Linked DNA regions of Homo sapiens: all the other regions are linked to region 1. Evidence: promoter capture Hi-C in 16 types of primary human blood cells and fetal thymus (Javierre and others, 2016). All regions are on one chromosome and are shown on one strand. Each heading gives the region's core, a stretch centred on a gene start or on the middle of the fragment in contact. The rest is flanking DNA. Distances are from core to core; before and after follow the strand shown. Region 1 holds the start of ERC1 (ELKS/RAB6-interacting/CAST family member 1). Region 2 overlaps LOC105369594 (a long non-coding RNA gene). Region 3 overlaps FBXL14 (F-box and leucine rich repeat protein 14). Region 4 overlaps FBXL14 (F-box and leucine rich repeat protein 14). Region 5 has its middle 9.4 kb from the start of B4GALNT3.

Region 1 (4,097 bases), core at 1,150-3,649:
AAGAACCTTCACTTTTAAGTTTGCAGTATTAATGTTGAATTAACAGACTGGCATACTTATCTATGACACAGGTAATGAAGGAAAAAAAACACCTCAGTAGACTCAACAAGGATATCACAAGTAATGACTAGCAAGCAACATTTTTTGAAAAATAAAATGTAGGCATAATTTCAGGCACAAGAAATGCTAAACGAAATAGCTTACTTTTACCTTAAGACTTTCCCCAAATTATGTGATTTCATTCCTACAAGGACAAGAATCACAGCTTACTACCAGCCATGCAAATGTCATTTTAGGAGTACACACAAGTTTTACCCAGTATCTTAGTTCACATTTGTCCCAATTAATTAAGTCTATGTATAATTTAAAAGCGAAAACTAGATATGTCAATTTTGTTTTCCTTCTAACTAATCCAAAGTCAAAACTGTTCACTTTACCAAATGAATTAACTGAATACAGTTAATTAAATCTTTTATTTATAATTAAAAATTGGAACACACACTTTCTCACTTAATACCTATTATGTCCTGTTTCCCATACCTCTCTATAAAGTAGAAGTATTTGCTGGAAGACAATAATCTGCTCATTAAGTAGGCACTTAGAAAAAGCAACGATCTGCAACTACTGAAATTCTTATCTGTATATTTCTCTTTTGGGTTACAAGAAAGCACTTCTCTGGCTATTTTCCCAAATAAACTAGGCAAGCCTTGGGAAAGTCACTGCTTAAATCCCACTTTCTGACAGCTTCTCTTCCTCCATAAATGAATTATTGAGAGCCATGTCTACTTCCATCCATTACATAATACATGTCCATCATGGGACCTGTTTTCTGAACAAGAAATAGCTTAAATGACACTAACTGATAAGTAGGGCCAGAGAATACTGTAATCTAACAGGGAGCAAGAATCCAGAAAAGAAGATTCTGATTTACAGTGCTAAGTTGTGAAAGAGTGATGTGAAGAACATTGAACACTGCTTACTCTAATATTTCCATACAAAGTGACACACCTGCCCCCAAAATGTTTTTAAAGCACTTGACTCCAAGAACATTTCTCAGAAATTGAGGAGCCTACCAAAAAAAAAGAGTTCCATTTCATTTTAAAGTGTTTTAATAAAGACTGCAAGAAACATAACTGCAAATGAGAAATAAAATTTCAACAATTTAGCACTGAACACAAAATGTCTAAAAGTCAAGGTGTACTGAGCAAGCAACACGCTATAAAAGACGGTTGTACTTTAAAACATTTAAGCATTTTTCATATAATTAGCTCCAACAGAACTATTCCAATTGTTCACTTTATCCACCCAAAGCAGTCAACCACAACCACCTGCAACTATTATTCAGCAATGTGCCTTCCAAAGCAACCACCTGAGTTTGGGGCCTTCTCTCAAGGGGCCAGGATAAAGCCTGTAAAAGGGTGGTATAAAGAGATCTTTTAGGCATTGGGGGGAAAAAAAACTGGAAGACACCACCTTGAAGGAGCTAAGCGTAATGCGACCCAAATGGTGGCTGCCGGAACGAAGTTGTCTAAACCGAAGATCTCCCTCTTCTTCGGTGTAAAACTTTCAGATACATCCACGCTCACAATTTACCTGAGCCAAAGTAAGGGGATTCTCTTCCCTCTCCGACCCCCCACCCACCCCGCCAGAAGAAAAAGAATCGAACCCTAAAGTAGAAACGTGAGATCTAGTGCAATAAAATAGGTTCTGCAACTGCCTCAAAGGCAACATGCACAGCTCATCGTCCTTTTGAAATACACTTCATCTTTTATCTCACCATTTCATCGAAAAGAAAAGAATCATCTTCAGCATTTTACATCACTCACCTAACCCAAAGATCCACCCTGACCGCACCCCAACCTCATGGCTCCCCAATTTCTCCGTCTCCCCACTACCTCGTCCGCGGCTTCACTAGTCCTAAGCCTCCCCCCCTCCGCTCCCCAAGTGCCCAGAGCCCCAGTCCCCACTCCCCCACCTCCCGCCCCAGGATCCCCACATCTACCGCCTCGGCTCCCGCCCGATCCCGGAGCCCGGCTGGGTGGAGCCCGCGGGTGGGCGCCGGTGGTCTGGGTGGGGCCCGCCCCTCCCCACCCCCCGGGCTGCCGAGGAGGGGGAGGGGGTCGCGAAGCCTCACCTACAGCTCCGCCCCTCCCCGGGGGCGCGTTGCCCTGCCCAGCCCAGCCCGGGCCGTGAGCAAGAAGCTGGGTAGGAAAGGCGAAAGCCTCAGCACTAGCGACAGGGGGGAAGCTCTGGGTCCCGCGCGACTTCCGCGCTGTCGCCGCCGCCGCGGCCGTCTCACCGTCCTCAGGGCTGCCGCTACTGCTGCTGCTGCCGCCCAGGCACCGCCGCCGCCGCCACTACCGCCGCCGCCGCCGCCACAGCACGGCCCAGGCGCCCGCGACGTCACCGCGCCCCGCCCCCTGCGCGAGACACCTAGCCCCGCCCCCAGCCCCGCCGCGGGGCGCAGCGCGCCTCCCCGGGCTCCCGGCTCGGCTGCCTCCCTTTCCCTCAGCCTCCCGGGAGCGTGACGCGGCGGCCCGGGGGCCTCCGGGCGCCTTCCGGGGCACGCGGGTGAGGAACTGGGAAGCGGGGGAAATCGGCGCCACGGCGGTCGATTAGCACCGAAACAGAGTGATGGGCGCGGAGCGTCCCTGCACACACACACACACTCACACACACACACACACGACCCCTGCGGCCACGGGAGGGGAGAGCCGGGGTCGGCTCCGCGAGCGCAGGGTGGCGCTTGTCTCCTCCTGCTTGCCGTAGGAAGTGGACGCTGGAAGCCCGAGGAGCCGCTTCGTGTCTTCCCAAACCTAAGCGGCGCCCCACCCCCTACTTCTCGTGGCCCGTTACGCCCGGGGCAGCCAAGCGCCGCGGGAGCAGCGCCGGGATCGACCCTGGCTGCTGGGGGGACGCTTTGTCCCAAGAAAGCTGGTTTTTTGCCCCTTAGCTTCGTGGAACGCGGCCGCGAAATTAGTGGTCTTCTGACCTGAGACTCGCGGGGCTGCGCACACGGGCATCGCCGAGGACCCCAGCAATGGACGTCGTGTCTGTGGTGATCCCGCCAGGACGCGGGGAGCGTGGGCGGAAATTAGTGTCCACGTTCCGACCCTGCGCTGTGCCAAACGCTGCTTCGGGAGCTGTTTATTTAGCCTCCGACAGCTAAGCGAATCGGCGGGCGGCTGGGGCCTGGTGCAACCCGATTTTCTCGTGCAGACTCGCAGCCGGCTTTGGTTTTGTTTTTTGTTTTTTGTTTTTTTTTTGGAGCCATGCAGAGGGTAGCTACAGCCATTAATTTAAGGATGTAGATAAGCTATCTCTAAACCAAGAAAGTAAGAATGGTGTGAATTATATTTATTCCCAGCCTTCCAGTGTTTATTAAAATAATTTTCGGTGTCCTTGAGAGGAGTTAAAAGCCATCATTTTACTCCTGCTTACCTCCGCCACCGTAATTAACCACTTTATACTGCCTCATAATCCCATTAACAAATTGCAGTCGCTCCTCAGCCTTCACATTCATTCACTCACCAGTTTCTACTGTTTCATCCTGCCCGGACTCTTAACTGTTCCCTCCCAGGATCGACATGCACTTGGATCATTGCAGTTTCTGGGCCTGCTGTCATCTCCCCCTTCAGTACTTCCCACATATGACTACCAACTGTTAGACGATGTGCTGCTGCCAGACCAGCCTTTCATTTCTTGGACATCCGGCTATTTACCCAGGAAAAGTCATCCTTTGACTATTTTTCATGACCTTTCTCATCTGACTCGTGATCTGCCCATCTTGTTACTCCCTAGCAGTGTGGTAAGGTAAGAGAAAATTCAACTAGGAGTCAATAGATATTTCTGTTCTCATTCTCCCACTGTCTACTTGTGTGGCCTCAGGCAATTCATTCTACTTGTGGTCTTACTTAACTGTAAAGTGAGGTTTGAAGTAGGTGTCTGAGATACATCATGTCCTTAAAATATGTGGATCTGGAGAATTAAGTTGCTAAGCGCTATGTTATACACGGAAATACTGTCCTAACACAGATTCAGATTTTTGTTTTTTATTTTTTGCCACCACACTGGCAAAAAATATTATTTCCTGCCCT
Region 2 (4,097 bases), core at 1,172-3,671, 590 kb after region 1:
GGCTACTTGGGAGGCTGAGGTGGGAGGATTGCTTGAGCCTGGGAGACCAAGGTTGCAGTGAGCCGAGATTGTGCCACTGCAGTCCAGCCTGAGTGACAGAGCAAGACTGTGTCTCAAAAAAAAAAAAGTAAAAATATATTTAATAAAAAAATTTTAAAAAGAACATTTGTGACTTATGGGAGGAGGTCAATATCAATAATAACAGGAGTTTGGAAGAAGTTAATTCCAATCCTCTTGGATGTCTTTGAGGGGGTTCAAGACTTCATGGACGAAATAACTGCAGATGCTGTGGAAGTAGCAAGAGAACTAGAATTAGAAGTGGAGCCTTGGGAGGCTGAGGCAGGAGAATCGCTTGAACCCGGGAGGCAGAGGTTGCAGTGAGCCCAGATCGCGCCACTGCAGTCCAGCCTGGGCAACAGAGCAAGATTCTGTCTCAAAAAAAAAAAAAAGTGGAACCTGAAGATGTGACTGAATTGCTGCAATCTCATGATGAAACTATGGATGAAGAGTTGCTTCTTATGAATAAGTAAAGAAAGTGGTTTCTTTAGCTGGAATCTACTCCTGGTGAAGATGCTGTGAACATTGCCAAAATGACAACAAAGGGTTTAGAATATTCCATAAACTTAGTCGATAAAGCAGTTGCAGGGTTTGAGGATTGACTTCAACTTTGAAAGAAGTTCTACTATGGGTAAAATGCTATCAAACAGCATTGCATGCTACAGAGAAATCTTTCATGAAAGGAAGAATCAATCAATATCATGAAAGGAAGAATGAAAACAACTTCATTGTTGTCTTATTTTAAGAAATTGCCACAGCCACCCCAGCCTTTAGCAATCAGCACCATGATCAGTCAGCAGCCCCCAACATCAAGGCTAGACCCTCCATCAGTGAAAATATTATGACTTGGCTTAGACGATCATTAGCATTTTTAGAATAAAGTATTTTAAGGCCAGTCGCGGTGGCTCACGCCTGTAATCCCAGCACTGCAGGAGGCTGAGACGGGCGGATCACGAGGTCAGGAGATGGAGACCATCCTGGCTAAGACAGTGAAACCCCATCTCTACTAAAAATACAAAAAATTAGCCGGGCGTGGTGGCGGGCGCCTGTAGTCCCAGCTGCTCGGGAGGCTGAGGCAGGAGAATCACTTGAACCCAGGAGGCAGAGGCTGCAGTGAGCTGAGATCGCGCCACTGCACTCCAGCCTGGGTGACAGAGCAAGACTCTGTCTCAAAAAAAAAAAGCATTTTAAATTAAGGCATGTAAATTTTTTTAAAGAAATAATGCAAACTAGAAATAATGCACTAGACTACAGTATCGTGTAAACACATAGCTTTTTTTATGTACCAGGAAACCGAAAATTTCGAGCAATTTGCTTTATGGTGATATTCACTTTATTATGGTGGTCTGGAACTGAACCTGCAATATCTCCAAGTTATGCCTGTACTCCCAAACCTGCTTTTTTCTCCCTTGTGATTTTCTCTGTTAATTACATTAATATCTTCCCAAACATCTCGGCTCGGTATCTTTTGTCTATTTCCTTTCTTTTAGCCCCTGCAATTTTTAAAAAATCAAGTCATGGTGAGCCTGTCTTCATATATATCTTCCTATTTATTTCCACTATGTGTCTTATTACCTTTCACTTGGTCTATTACCATAGGCTTCTAACTGGGTGTTCTTGCCTCCAATCCATTCTATAAAAGGTGATTTTTGTCCAGGCTGGTCTTGAACTCCTGACCTCGTGATCCACCCGCCTCAGCCTCCCAAAGTGGTGGGATTACAGGCATGAGCCCCATCTCTAGTAAAAATACAAAAATTAGCTGGGTGTGGTTACATGTGGCACATGCCTGTAATCCCAGCTACTCAGGAGGCTGAGGCAGGCGAATTGCTTGAACTCAGGAAGTGGAGGTTGCAGTGAGCTGAGATCACGCTGTTGCACTCCAGCCTGGGTGACAGAGCGAGACTCTGTCTCCAAAAAATTCAATTCCGGGTCTGTCACACTCCTGCTTATAAACTTTGATGACTCCCCACAGACTAGAGAATGAAGTTCAGACAGTAGTATGGCATTCAAAGACTGCAGCTATCTGACCCCATTTGTCTCTATTAGAAGAAATTGATGTGGTCATCTCCTGAACACAGGACGCACTTTCCAGCTTCAGTTCACACTCTTCCTTTTATCTGGATTGGCCCTTTCAGTGCATCTTCACTCAAAATTCTTACGAGAGCCAACTCAAATACTACCACTTTTGTAAAATCTTGACTTATCTCCCTAATTGGAAATACAGTTGTCCCTTGCTCAGTATCTGCTAGGGATTGGTGCCAGGCAATTCCTGGGTACCAAAAGGCATAGATGCTCAAGTCCCTTACATAAATGGCATATTATTTGCATATGACCTATGCACACCCTCCCGTATACTTCAAAACATCTATAGATTACTTATAATACCTAATACAATTTAAACAGTTGTTTTTCTTCCTTTTCCTTTTTTATTTATTTATTTTTTCAAGAGGGAGTCTTGCTCTGTCCCGCAGGCTGGAGTGCAGTGGCATAATCTCAGCTCACTGCCACCTCCGCCTCCCAGGTTCAAGCGATTCTCTGGGCTCAGCCTCCCAAGTAGCTGGGATTACAGGCACCCACCACCACACCTGGCTAATTTTTGTATTTTTAGTAGAGATGGGGTTTCACCATGTTGGCCAGGCTGGTCTCGAACTCCTGACCTCAGGTGATCTGCCCGCCTTGGCCTCCCAAAGTGCTGGGATTATAGGCGTGAGCCACCTCGCCTGGCCAGTGTATTGACTTTTTTAAATTTCAAAATGTATTTATTTTCTTTTATTTTTTATTTTTTAGAGACAAGGTCTTGCTGTGTTGCTCAGACTGGACTCAAACCCCTGGGCTCAAGCAATCCTCCTGACTCAACCTCCTGAATAGCTGGGATTACAGATGCATGCCACTGCACTTGATTTACTGTATTGTTTTATATTTTTTATTTATTTATTTATTTTGAGACAGAGTCTCACTCTGTCGCCCAGGCTGGAGTGCAGTAGTGTGATCTCAGCCCACTGCAACCTCTGCCTTCTGAGTTCAAGCGATTCTCTTGCCTTAGCCTCCCAAGTGGCTGGGACTACAGGCATGCACCACGACGCCCAGCCAATTTTTGTATTTTTAGTAGAGATGGGGCTTCGCCATGTTGGCCACTCTGGTGTCGAACTCCTGACCTCAAGCAATCTACCCACCTCGGCCTCCCAGAGTTCTGGGATTACAGGCGTGAGCCAGCACACTCGGCCTGTACTGTTTTTTAATCTGTATTATTTTTATTATTTATTATTATTTTTATTGTTTTTTTTTCCAAATATTTTCTGTAGTTGGTTGGGTTCGTAGATACGGACTCTCTAAATGAGGAACCCACATATATGGAAGGCTAGCTGTAATCCCTCCTGATTGGATATTCATTTAGCAATTTGTCCTTTTATTTTTATAAAGTAGCCTCTATTCAAATGTCACCAATCTGGCTGGGTGCAGTGGCTCATGCCTGTAATTCCAGCACTTCGGGAGGCCAAGGCAATAGGATTGCTTGAGCTTAGTAGTTTGAAACCAACCTGGGAAATACAGCCAGACCCTCTCTCTATAGAAAATAGAAAAATAAAACAAAATTACCCAGACGTGGTGGCACACACCTGTAGTCCTAGCTACTCAGGAGGCTGAGGGAGGAGGATCGCTTCAGCCCAGAAGTTTGAGGTTACAGTGAGCCAAGATAATGCCATTGCACTCCAACCTAAGTGAGACAGAATGAAACCGTGCCTCAGAAAACTAAGAACAAAAAACAAATGTCACCAATCTGTGAGCCCTTTGATGATCACCCAAGCCCCCTTACTTTCTCCACTTTAAAAAAATCTTATCATCACTAAAATAGTATATATTTATTAGCTTGTGCTTATTCTTTTGTCTTCCCTTTCTACTAGTGAGCTGTATGAGAGCCGATACTTTGTCTTTTTTTGTTGTTCACTGTCATATATCCAGCATCTGGAAGAGTGCCTGGCACATAGAGATGTGGAATAAATGTTGAATGCATGTATAATCCTCCTCCCTACAGGTGTGCTGCC
Region 3 (4,097 bases), core at 614-3,113, 600 kb before region 1:
GGTTACACGGCAGTGGGTTCTTAGTCTGTTTTTCTTCCAAGAGACTGCATGGCTGTACAGATTCAATTGATAAAAATTTGAGCACCCAAGTCTTAGGCTCTGTATTCACATTCTTCATTTTAATAGGCAAAATATTCCTACCACCTGTAACGTGAAGCACGTTCTTCTGTTTTGTCTCCTTTTTACGTTAAATGTTAAATATACGCTTGACTAAAGGTCGGCAAATTGATGTTTGAAAGTTACGACCATGGGTCTAGCTATATCCTTATCCTGAATGAGGCATACTTAGTATATAGCCGGAGCTTCTCTGGGAAAGATGATAAACCACCTAGAGTGGTTAGTGAAGGTCAACTGCTCATCTCTCAACCTTTTTGGATGGAAAGCAATTAACGTGTTGAGAACCTATGTGTGTTTTACAAGGTACTTGTAAGTTTTAATCTTCAAAGCAACCTGCTGAAACAGGTATTATCCCTGTTTTCCAGATAAGTCATAATTCCTGCCGTAAGTTACCCAACCAGTAAGTGAGGGAGCCAGGATTCAAACCTAGGCTCCATTTCTCCATTTCCCTCCCTCCCTCCCTCCCTTCCTTCCTGTCTTCCTGCCTTCCTGTCTTTTTTTTTTTTTTTTTTTGAGACAAGGTCTTGATCTTTTTTTTTTTTTTTTTTTTTTGAGACAAGGTCTTGATCTGTTGCCTAGGCAGGAGTGCAGTGGTACAATCACAACCCACTGCAGCCTTGACTTCCCAGGTTCAAGTGATCCTCCCACCTAGCCTCCTGAGTAGCTGAGACTACAGGCGCACACCACCATGGCTGGCTATTTTTTTTTTTTTTTGTATTTTTTTTGTAGAAACAGGGTTTCACCATGTTGCCCAGGCTGGTCTCAAACTCCTGGGCTCAAGCGATCTGCCCACCTCGGCCTCCCAAAGTCCTGGGATTACAGGCGTGAGCCACTCTGCGTGGCCCAGGCTCCATTTCTAAAGTCCAGCTCCCTTCTGCTTGATGAGAAGATTTAGTTACTCGTCATACCTTGGTTTCCAGTAAGGTGACCCTCATAGAAGTGAACGGTAGCTGTTTGAACACCGTATGAACAAGCTTATGCCATAGGGCAGTACTTCAAAGGGAATAGGGGTGACTCTTGGTGGTATGAAAAGTTGATCCCCGCCATACCTACAGGAATGGGAGAAATGCATTGAAGAATAGAAGAGCTAAAGGACATGAATTGATAGTACACTTTGCGTGGTGGTACAAAAGTTAAAAGGCACTCCAGGGCAGTTCTTAGAATAACAGAAAAAAACTTGGTTCAGGTATTTGCTGAAACTTGAGAACTGAAAAAACATAATGTAAACTTCGTGTAAACCTTATCATCTAGAAGTAATAAACCTCAACAGAAACTGGGTAGTAGTCAAGGAACAGCTTCATTTCCCTTCTTTTTCTAAGTGTCATTGTGTGTAGCCCTTCAATGTTCTTACTGGAAAGATTATCTATAAATCACCTGTGGGGCTCAGCCAATTTCTGCAGCTCCCAAGCTAGGCCCCTAACTTGTCCAACTTAACATTTACTAAAACTAAAAGCCAGTACCAGTATATCCTAAAAATAAACTCGAACCGATCATGTTCTTTCATGAGTCAGATGAACAACAAAGATGTAAAAAAGCAAACGTTCCTTTTTCTTTTGAAAGGTATGAACTTTCTCTTACATAAGGACATATGATATGTAAATTAAAGCATGGCCTAGCTCCCAAATCCTGCTGCTTTCCTGAAGTGGTTACTAGATAGGTGCTGGTCTTAGAATACAAACAAAACCTTTCACTTTTGACTTAGAGAATTCGAATTCAAGTTTTCAAAGGGAAAGGGTAGTGGCCCCCAGGGACCACTGTGTTTCTAAAGAATAAGAACCTCTTGATTAAAAGATCAGATTTGTAAAACAAAACCAAGACCTCATGCAGCTTCTGACAACTGTCTCTTCCCAGTTCTATGAAAGGGAAAGCCCTGGCCTCTGATCTCTGCTGTGTTCTGCGGTAGAAAGGGAGGGACTATAGTAAGTCATCTAGTGGTCCCCTCTCTCTGTTCTCTTTCTCTTCCCTGCATCAAACATCACCCCTTTTAAAAGTTAATTCCATCCCTTTAGTAGAGGGCAAGACCTAAATTTTGTGCCATTATGAACCCCTGAGGAGTCAGAGGGGTGAGGCTTTTTGATGAAATAATGTGGATCATGAGTAAAGCACAGCATTAGAAATTAGAAAGCTGCATTCAAACCTAAGCTCAGACTTGGGTCACATACTTACCTCATTTCTGTCAATGCACTTGGTTAACTATCAGGCAGCAAGTTAAATTTTTTAAAAAGTTGTAAAACAGATGGGACATGCATATTTAGATCAGTGCCAAATATTAATAATTTACTTAATGAAGTATCAAAGGTAAGTGCACAGTTGGAACAAGAGCATATATCTCAGCTCTTGTATGGAATTTCTAGACAATTGGTAAATTTAAATGTCCACAAATGATCAGTTTCAGTTTTTTCCTCTTTTCCAGGGATTGCTCTGATTTTGCCTGCTGGAGTTGCCTTTACCAACCCAGAATATTTGGTCGTATGTAAAGCCAAGCCCTCCAGTTGAGGTGCAAAAGAAAGTAAGCTTGAGATCTTAACTGAGCAGCACCAGAGTGGGGTATGTTAAACCCCCACTCCCAATAAAACAATCGAAGTGGAATTCCTCTGCCTGCTATTTATTAACCCAGAAAAGTGCACATATTTTCTTTAAAAAGAAGACTTAAGTTTCTATTATTTCATTACTCTTCTACTTCAATTTTTTTTTTTTTTTTTTTTTGAGACGGAGACGGAGTTTCACTCTTGTTGTCCAGGCTGCAGTGCAATGGCACGATCTTGGCTCCCTGCAACCTCCGCCTCCCAGGTTCAAGTGATTCTCCTGCCCCAGTCTCCTGAGTAGCTGGGATTACAGGCGTGTGCCACCACGCCCGGCTAATTTTGTATCTTTGGTAGAGACGGGGTTTCTCCATGTTGGTCAGGCTGGTCTCAAACTCCCGACCTCAAGTGATCCGCCCGCCTCGGCCTCCCAAAGTGCTGGGATTACAGGCATGAGCCACCGCGCCCGGCCACTTTAGTTGTTTAAGGAACAAATGCTTTATATCCTTATAAAAAACTTACAAGGATACTTGCATTTGTGATAGTGGAAACAAATGAGTCTCAATTACAAAGAAGAGAACTGGGTCTGCAGCCGTGGCGCAGCAGAGAAACCCAAGTGAGACCAGGTCAGGAATGTGAGTGTGATCTGTGGAAGAACTCAGTCATAACACAATGTTCGGTTTCTCTGTCTCAACATTTTTGTTTTCCCAAATCTGGCAGATGTGGTACATTTAATTTTATAAATGGGAAAAGATGCTTAACAAAGTGGAAAAGATTTTGCCTAGGTAATTAGAGGAGAACCTAGTGTCAGAACCTGGGCTGCTCTAGACTTAATGACCAATGCAGAAGGTGACCAGCATGGAGGCGGCTCACAGGGGCACTGCAAAGCACCACCCTGTCTCTCTTCAGAGATGTGTGGCACCAAGCCAGGCACGGCACACATCTGTAGTCCCAGCTACTCACTCGGCTGAGGTGGGAGGATCACTTGAACACACGAGTTCAAGACCAGCCTGGGCGACACAGCAAAACCCCATCTCTTAAAAAAATTATTATTTTTTGTCTTTTTTTTGAGACAGAGTCTCGCTCTGTTGCCCAGGCTGGAGTGCAGTGGCATGATCAGAGCTCACTACAATCTCGGACTTCTGGGCTCAAGGGATCTTTCTACCTCAGCCTTAAAAAAAAGTTTCTTAAAAGGTGCCACACCAAAGCATATTATTTTCATTAGGAGTAAAAAAAAAAAAAAAACCCCAAATGCTAAAAGTTATTACTATTTAATATGCACTACCTTATGCAAACTTAGACATGTTTGCAAGCATTATATAGGGTTATTCAGGAAACCAAAAAACTAGTACATGTTGTTAAATGGTCTATAAGGTACTGAAGTAGCTAACTGTCAAATCTGTTGCCTGTTGCTCTCAGAGGATTTGAGCCAGTTTCCAAAACACTGCTTTGTTGCAC
Region 4 (4,097 bases), core at 803-3,302, 580 kb before region 1:
TCTTCTGTGCACTTATGTATGTTGTACCCATGGACATAGAATGTTCTTCCCTCTCTGTTTGACTGGAGAACTCTTCCTCACCCTTTAAGTCCTGGCTTGAATGAACACTGTGCAGCCTCCCATTGCTATCTCTGTGCCCCTCAGCTGCCTGAGCCTCCGGTATCGGCACTTCTGGCCCCGCAATGTTACATCCTCTTTACATCACTGCTGTCCCTAGAAGGACCCCCTAGTCGTGCGTGGCTGGGGTGGCATTCAGCTGACAAGGTTGAACGTATGTGCTGAGCTTCTACGAGGCACCCTGTCCTGTGATAGGGGCTGAGGATACAGCAAAGAACAGACCTTAGTTCCAGCCTAACAAAGCTTACAGTATTGTGGAGAAGACAGACAAAAAATGTAACACCAGATACTAACGTAACCCAAATCAGGAGGCCCTGACCTGGTCTAGGGGTCAGAGAATGCCTCCCAGACAGTACTGGCATTTACCTTTGCATTTCTAGCACAGCGCCTTGCACTCTGGAAGGCTCTGAGTCAGTTTTCTTAGGTGAAGTGTCACTCAAATGCTAAAGACCCTCAAATATTCAGCCCAGACCCCTGGACCCACAGACCCAACTATTAGACATCTCTTACTAGTGTATCCCACAGACATAGGAGCCCAAAATTAAACATATTTCCTCCTAAATCACTCTACCTACCCAGATTTACGGCCTCCATAAAAGGCACTGCCTGGCTGACCACACAATCAGCCTGGAAGTTATGAATAACTCTTCTCTCTCTTATTACATCCTGTGCCCAAAGGATTGTCCCAGCTCTGTTGATTCCGCCTTCTGGATTCTGACCGCATTATTTCCTCTCCATCCCCCCTCCACCGCCACTGCCCTAAGTCAGTCCTCATCACTTCTCATTTTGACCATTTTGACCCAGGTCCCAGGAGTGATTTTTCTAATGTACAAATCTGATTCTATCACTTCCCGGTCACAATCTCCAGTGGGCTCCTTCTTGCCAATAGGTTAAAATCTAAATTCTGCTGCACGCTGTCCGGGATCCTCGATAACCTGGCCCTGCCTTCCTCTCCACTGCCCCCCCGCTTCCCCGACCTGTATGTGCGTCAGGACTGAACCTCTGCAGTCACGATTTCTCCAATGATAGACCACGGCCTCTCTGGGAATGGGGCGGGCCCCCTGGACCTGGGTCTACTAGCATATGGACTCAGACCTAAAGATCAGGGTGCCTGGTGCATCTTACTTGGTAACAAAAAAAGCCAAATCAAAATGTTCTTGTGTTGAAAGGGGCACATTATCTGCACTAAAACATACCCTGCATCCAGTTGCAAACGTACAGTAGGAAACTCTTGGGAGCCAAGAAGTGTCCTGTATTGTGACTGTGGTGCTGGTTTCATGGGGTTATGCATCTGTCAAAACACACCGTATCGTGCACTTTGAGTGCAGTTTGTTGTACATAAATTATACCTCATAAAGTTATTTAAAAAGTTCCCTCTGTCAACACTAGCTTGCATGGATTGTCATACTGTCACCTAAAATGCTCTATCCTTGCCTATCTGCATGTAAATCCTACTTTTTTTTTCACTGCCCCCAAAGCCTTTCCTGACTCCCCCACGTAAACGTGACTGCCACTTCTCTTGTTTCTCATAGTTTCAGTCATCCCTCCCCATCCTTGGTGGTGAAGCCTCCTAATTCCCTTGGTGGGAATTTGTAGTTAAGGAACTTAACACTTCATAGAAATAACAGGCTATGGGTGGTGAGGTCTCCAGGGACTAGAGCACAGAACTGTCTTCATTCTGGTACTCCCTGCACCCAGGAAAGTGCTGGGTATAGAGTAGGTGTTCAATCAATATTTGAGGAACAAGGAGATGGGAAGATCTGGAGTTGATACACTCAGTACATTAGGCTTAGCTGATTCTTACTTGAGGAAGACAGACTGAGCTATTAGTAGTGACTTCAAATGGGATAGGGACAATCTTGCAGTAACCTTGCTGGTGAGAAATCTAGGAAAACCCCAGCATCTGTTAAAAAGTCGCTCTTTGATAACTGCTGTGTCCCCGTCCCAAGGTAATCATTTTAAAGTCAAATAAAAAACATGTATGATTTGGATATTTCAAGTCTCTTTTTCAAAAGCACTATCTCTGTTTATGAAACTGATGAGCTGTGTTGCTTAAGCTCTGCTAACTAAGAAAGTAGTGTTTTACACTGGCTGGGCGCGGTGGCTCACTCCTGTAATCCCAGCACTTTGGGAGGCTGAGGCAGGCGGATCACCTGAGGTCAGGAGTTCGAGACCAGCCTGACCAACATGGAGAAACCCCGTCTCTACTAAAAATACAAAATTAGCCGGGTGTGGTGGCGCATGCCTGTAATCCCAGCCACTCGAGAGGCTGAGGCAGGAGAATCGCTTGAACCTGGGAGGCAGAGGTTGCAGTGAGCTGAGATCATGCCATTGCACTCCAGCCTGGCCAACAAGAGCAAAAACTCTGTCTCAAAAAAACAAAACAAACAAACAAAAAAAACCCCACCAGAAAAAAGAAACTGTTTTACACCTACTGCCATGCAATAGCATGCTTTTGATACATGAGTATATGTATAAAGTATAAGATATATACAAGATTCTAAAATAGTGGCTGAAGGACCATGCAATCAGGCAGTCATAGCAATGACCGATTATTAGTGATAAACACATGCCACACAGAGAAAGGACTATGGACAATAATGGCCTATTTAACCTACCACTGTCCTGCAGCAACCGCTCATCTGGAGGAGCAGCAGACAAGGGTAGATGGAGCTGCATTACATGGCGACACTAGGCAGCTTGGTCTACACCATCACTGCTCCTCCCATCATGACCACACCACCTGGGAGGACCACCAAAGGGAAAAAGATCAAGAGAGGCCGAGGAGAATTACTACCGCTTGGTCTCGATGGTCACGTCATCAAAGATTCATTCATTGACTATTCAGTGTATGTTCTGACTAAGATGGGCAAAAGTGATCGAGACACTTGGGTTCCGTTCTGCTTTGCTCACTTAGTCCTTAACTTGACTGCCCTTCCCCTGCCTCACTTTTTTCACTTGCAAAACCAGACAAAATGCTAGACATTCTACTCACCATCAGACCCAGGAGAGCCTACAGGGAACCCCACGGCGTGAAATCAGCGTCAGCTCAGCAGGCAGGTATTCCAGGCAGAGCACACAGCCATGCCCACCCACATTTCCCACCTTCACCCTTCAGGCACGAGACCCCACCTTCTGACCACCAGCTCCTGCACTTTTTTTGCGGAGCCCTCTTGCCCACCCCGGTAGGAAGGAGATGCCAGAGATGAGTGCTCCCTGTGACAGCCCTCAACCAGGGACAGGCAGGAGCCGTTGTATAAGGACACATGTTGTACCCCGGCTGACTTCCCCAGCAGGTTTGGCCCCAGTGGCCACGTCCATCACCGGTGTGATAACCCACTCTTGATTGGCTGTCTTCCCTTCCTTGTCTCACTTTCCCACTCTCTGATCAGTAGCTCCTCATGTCACAAGTAATCTACTGGCCTTTGAGTCACTGCTTCAGGGTGGGCTTCTGGAGGAACACAAACTAGGACAACAGGTCTAGTGTGGACAGGACACCGCACTAGACAAAGCTGGGCGGAGTTTCGACCAGAGGGGAAAAACCCCTCTTCCATGCAACAACAGCAAAACGTTCTCTTAGGAAGAATCTGAACCTCATAAAAGCCTCCTTCTTGTCTGAAAAGCTTCCTTGCAGAAGGAGCTCAGTGGGCCTGAGGGCAGAAGTGCAGCTCTCGAGGGGGATGCTGGCTCTGCAGTGGGCATGTGGTGCGCCCTGCCCTCCCTTGGCTCTGTGTGAGCCTCCCTTCCTTTGCACAGGGGACTCTGGGTGAGTGGCACAGCCTTCAACAAAAGTGGCTCTGCTCTTTGGCAATAGTCTTTTCTGTGGGACAGCATAAAATGAGCATTAAACAAACTTCGAGGATGAGCTATGCTCAACAGCCATAAAGAACCAAGTGGTGCCGGGAGCGGTGGCTCACGCCTGTAATCCCAGCACTCTGGGAGGCCGAGGCGGGCGGATCACAAGTTCAGGAGATCGAGAC
Region 5 (4,097 bases), core at 776-3,275, 540 kb after region 1:
TGTGGGGTGGTAGAGGGTGGTCAAGACGTGTATTTGTTTTGTTTTGTTATGTGTTTTTTTAATCTGTCATCCAGGCTGGAGTGCAGTGGCACAATCTATGGCTCATTCCCGCCTCAGCCTCTTGAGTGGCTGGGACTGCAAGCATGTACCACCATGCCTGGCTTTTTTCTTTTTTTCTTTTTTTTTCGAGACAGGTCCTGCTCTGTCACCCAGGCTGGAGTGCAGTGGCGCAATCTTGGCTCACTGCAACCTCTGCCTTCCGGGTTCAAGCAATTCTCGTGCCTCAGCCTCCCGAGTAGCTGGGACTACAGGTGTGCGTCACCACACCTGGCTAATTTTTGTATTTTTAGTAGAAACGGGGTTTCGCCATGTTGGCCAGGTTGGTCTCAAACTTCTGGCCTCAAGTGATCTGCCCACCTCCCAAAGTGCTGGAATTATAGATGTGAGACACCGTGCCCAGCCCTTGGCTAAATTTTTTAACTTTAATTTTTTGTTGAGATGGGCTATGTTGCCCAAGCTGGTTTCAAACTCCTGGGCTCAAGCAATTCTCCCACATCAGCTTCCCAAAGTGCTAGGATTACAGGCATGAGCCACTGCACCCCACCAAGGCAGAAGAATCTTTTAGAAGCTCCAGGGCACTGAGCTTATGCCTGTAATCCCAACACTTTAGGAGGCTGAGATGGGATGACTGCTTGAGCCCAGAAGGTGGAGTCTGCAATGAGCAGTGATCTGCACTGCATTCTAGCCTGGGTGACGGAGTGAGACCCTATATCTAAAATTAAATACATAACAAATATTCTTCTGCCTTTATGAGGATTCTGCTCTTCAGCCAGGCATCTTACCCTCAAAAGGGGGCTGTCAGAGCAGGCCAGTGGGAGATGTGCATGGTAAAGCCTTGCATTGTGTTATCCCATGTGTTATCCAGGTGTTTATAGGAGACATTTCACACTCTGAATTTTCCTTCAGTGAATTTACAAAGTGACCTCAGAGACTTCACATCAGTCTCTGAATTATTTTTTTAATCTAGGTCAGATGTCCTTTGCTCCACATTTTCAGATCACCGTGTTATCTCAGCTTTCTAGGCTGAATACATTGCTTTCAGGAAGGTTTTCCCTTAAATGCCATAGTATTCTCGAGGGAGATTTCTGCAGCCTTTAAAGACCTGTAGAAAAGGAAACCCCCAGCATTCTCACCATAGGGGAGAGTCATAGGTGGCATCACAGAGAGGAATGCCAACACCTCAGGAGAGGATGTGGGTGTCTTGTGAAGAGAGCCCGAGTCAGAACTCCTGGAAACACTAACACTGGTGGGACAAGCAGAAGCAGAATCAGTGACCAGGAGCAGGCAAGTGCACCAGGTGCAGAAGTCAGACTAGGACAGAGACCTAGGAAGCAGGGAGAGCCAGAGGCAGTGCCAGTGCATGCGTGGGCAGGCAGCAGGCTCATGATCAGCGCTTAGGAGGCAAGGGCAGGAGACTGGGTGGGAAGCACCCCGATAGGAGAGGGGTGAGGGGAGTTAGAGGGCGGCTTAGTCCGACTGACTCAAGGTGAAATATAGAATCTAGCCTGGTGCCATGCCTCACACCTGTAATCCTGGCACTTTGGGAGGCTGAAGCAGGAAAATCACTTGAGGCCAAGAGTTTGAGACCAGCCTGGTCAATATAGTGAGACTCCATCTCTATGTAAAATTTTAAAATAAATAAAGAAATAAAAGTGGTGGGGGGAAGAAATACTGAATCTCAAAGATGAGGACAAAGTAGTCAGGCTTCAGGAAATGAGCAGAGAATACGTAGAGAAAGAAGAGTTTCCTAAGGTCATTTTTTGGGGGGAAGGAGTTCATTGCTTTGACAGAAACAAGCAAGAGAACCTGTTTGCACACCGAGAACACAGCTATTTTCCACAGAAGCTTATCAGGTGCTGGCCCAGCCTAGGGAGTGACACAAGAGATAAGGCTAGGGTAAGGAACCGCCTCTCTAAGTAAAAAGAAAAACCCAGGCACACCAGTTCAATCTGCACTGATTACTGAGCTTTGGGCCAAATGAAATCTCACCAAAATGTGCATGACAATACTACTTAGGCTCATTCCTATTTGGGATCCCTCTACTTAATATTTAATTATCCTTCCCAAATGCCAAGGCAAGCTTGCCAATTAAGAGGCTCTGGAAGAGTCAACACAAGCAATATTGAAATTGTTCATTTAAAATCGCACTGCTGTTGTTAAATGCTGTTGTGAGCCAAAAGGGAAGGAAAATGTCACAAGTCAACACAAGGCTAATCACAAACATTGTGGTCCAATCCAGAATTACCAGGACTCACTAGCTGCAGACTAGTCAAAAAGCAGTGAGTCAATGATTGGAGATAAACTGGGCAAAATGTGCATAAAATCACTGTATTATTTCTTAGAACTGCATGCGAATGTACAATTATCTAAAAAATAGAAAGATGAGCTGAATCATCGAGGAGAATAAATATTTGTCCAAACTGAAAAAAAACCATATTTGGCAGCAACTCAAGATGCATCTATTATAATGACATACATATATGACATATATGTAGATATGAGTCTATTCTGTTCATGTGTCAACACAACACAATTTATTTATTATTTGTATATTTTATTTTTTATTTTTTTAGAGATGGGGTTTCACTCTGTAGCCCTGGCTAGAGTGCAGTAGCCTGATCATAGCTCACTGTAGCCTCGACCTCCTGGGCTCAAGCGATCCCCCAGCCTCAGCCTCCCAAGTAGCTGGGGCTATAGGCGTGCACCACCACACCCAGCTAATTTTTTCTATGTTTTGTAGAGATGGAGTCCCACTATGTTCCTAGGCTGGTCTCAAACTCCTGGCCTCAAATGATCCTCCTGCCGTGACCTCCCAAAATGCTGGAATTACAGGCGTAAGCCACTGTGCCAGTCTTAATTTTTTAAAAAATAGACTGGCTGGCTCAGTTTGAAAAAAAGAGGTCATGCAGCTGAAGAGGCAAAGAGAAAGAGAGCTAATATCTGCAAACAAAAGAAATCATAGCTGCCACTTGGAGGTTGAGCTCCCAGAAGGCTGTTCTGGCAAGGATGGTGGTTTCTCAGTGACAATCTGATCCACAGTCTCCCACATAGGCACCTGCATTCACTTACGATGTGAATATTCTCATCTAGTAGTTTCCCCCAAGAAGGGCATCATCTCCAAAATGAGGGATTTCCTACACACAAGAACACGGGTGCACTGTGATGTCATCATAAATGTGAGGCAATTAAGTAATTAATCTCCAGAAGTCTAGGTTGTGTTCACAGTTGCTTTTTGTATGGCTAACTTGAAAATAAGCTACCAAGTAGTCCAGGAGTGGAATATTTCACAGCTTAAGCCGATAAAGCAATGTTTTCACGTAGAGATTTAAAGCCCCCTTTCAAAATGTTTTCTTTGCAAGGCCTCCCTTCACTTTGCAGCCAAACCCTCCTTCCAGCTCTATCTCTTCACCTGCCTTTTTTTCTGCTGGTCTGCCTATTCTAGATCTTTTTTGGCTCTGTGCCCTTACCTACTTAGGAAGTTAGAAGGGCAGATGAAGCAGACTATGACTTGCTGCGATTCTAGGCATTTTCTCCCTGGCAGGCAGTTCAACTCAATAAATCGTCCATCAAGAGCTACTCCTAATGAGTCTATCACTTGTCTCTTGTCAGCTCCCTCCAATCTTTCCAACATTCACTTTCTCCTCAAGCTCCCCATCACATCTATACCCTATCTCACTTTCAGTGGAGGGTTTAACTTTATTTCCTCTGTGAAAACAGGGTACTTGCCCCTTTAGAGTTATTATACCAACTCATCTGCTTTTACTGCACCCGTCAGTACCAGCGCTCATTCCCCCAGCATCTTACTTAGAAACACCTCTCACTCTTCCATCTTCAGTTCCTTCCTCTGGCCTTTCCCTTTCAGTCTGTGAATATGGTTAAGTCTTCCCCAGCCTAAAACTATCGAAACTCCTCTCCTTGGCTTTATCAACTTTGAAGCTATTTCCCATTTTCCTTCTGGCCTCATCCCTCAACCTAATATAAGCCAACTTCCATCTCTATTTCACTGAAGTTGCTTTAAACTCACCTGCTGCTAAATC

What was found. The method cuts DNA at HindIII sites, captures the fragments that hold promoters and counts their contacts. A CHiCAGO score of 5 or more calls a contact.
Region 2: a contact is called between a fragment that was not itself captured here and the fragment with the promoter of ERC1 in region 1, in 1 of 17 cell types (activated CD4 T cells). The highest score is 5.2, in activated CD4 T cells.
Region 3: a fragment that was not itself captured here is called in contact with the fragment with the promoter of ERC1 in region 1 in 17 of 17 cell types (endothelial precursors, fetal thymus, megakaryocytes and 14 more); the score reaches 14.9 in endothelial precursors.
Region 4: a contact is called between a fragment that was not itself captured here and the fragment with the promoter of ERC1 in region 1, in 1 of 17 cell types (endothelial precursors). The highest score is 5.6, in endothelial precursors.
Region 5: a fragment that was not itself captured here is called in contact with the fragment with the promoter of ERC1 in region 1 in 2 of 17 cell types (activated CD4 T cells and naive CD4 T cells); the score reaches 6.1 in activated CD4 T cells.

What each region holds. Positions count from the first base shown.
Region 1 is chr12:989,525-993,621 of GRCh38, reverse strand. It overlaps ERC1 (ELKS/RAB6-interacting/CAST family member 1), which reads right to left and starts at 2,399. Exons shown (of 19, transcript NM_178040.4): 1 at 2,300-2,399. It also overlaps a transcript of RAD52 not described here. RefSeq lists silencers at 1,585-1,879, 2,085-2,594, 2,615-2,724, 3,135-3,184 and enhancers at 1,883-2,444, 3,006-3,568. The HindIII fragment of the contact is 9,168 bases long and covers 1-4,097 here.
Region 2 is chr12:394,796-398,892 of GRCh38, reverse strand. The region is part of intron 2 of LOC105369594 (a long non-coding RNA gene); the gene reads left to right. It also overlaps a transcript of CCDC77 not described here. Among named protein-coding and RNA genes, the nearest start is that of CCDC77, 4.8 kb to the left of the region's middle. The HindIII fragment of the contact is 9,606 bases long and covers 1-4,097 here.
Region 3 is chr12:1,585,970-1,590,066 of GRCh38, reverse strand. All of the region lies in intron 1 of FBXL14 (F-box and leucine rich repeat protein 14), which reads left to right. Among named protein-coding and RNA genes, the nearest start is that of FBXL14, 6.6 kb to the left of the region's middle. RefSeq lists an enhancer at 1,566-2,225. The HindIII fragment of the contact is 1,540 bases long and covers 1,094-2,633 here.
Region 4 is chr12:1,569,617-1,573,713 of GRCh38, reverse strand. All of the region lies in intron 1 of FBXL14 (F-box and leucine rich repeat protein 14), which reads left to right. Among named protein-coding and RNA genes, the nearest start is that of FBXL14, 23 kb to the left of the region's middle. The HindIII fragment of the contact is 3,380 bases long and covers 363-3,742 here.
Region 5 is chr12:448,519-452,615 of GRCh38, reverse strand. No RefSeq gene overlaps it. Among named protein-coding and RNA genes, the nearest start is that of B4GALNT3, 9.4 kb to the left of the region's middle. The HindIII fragment of the contact is 235 bases long and covers 1,908-2,142 here.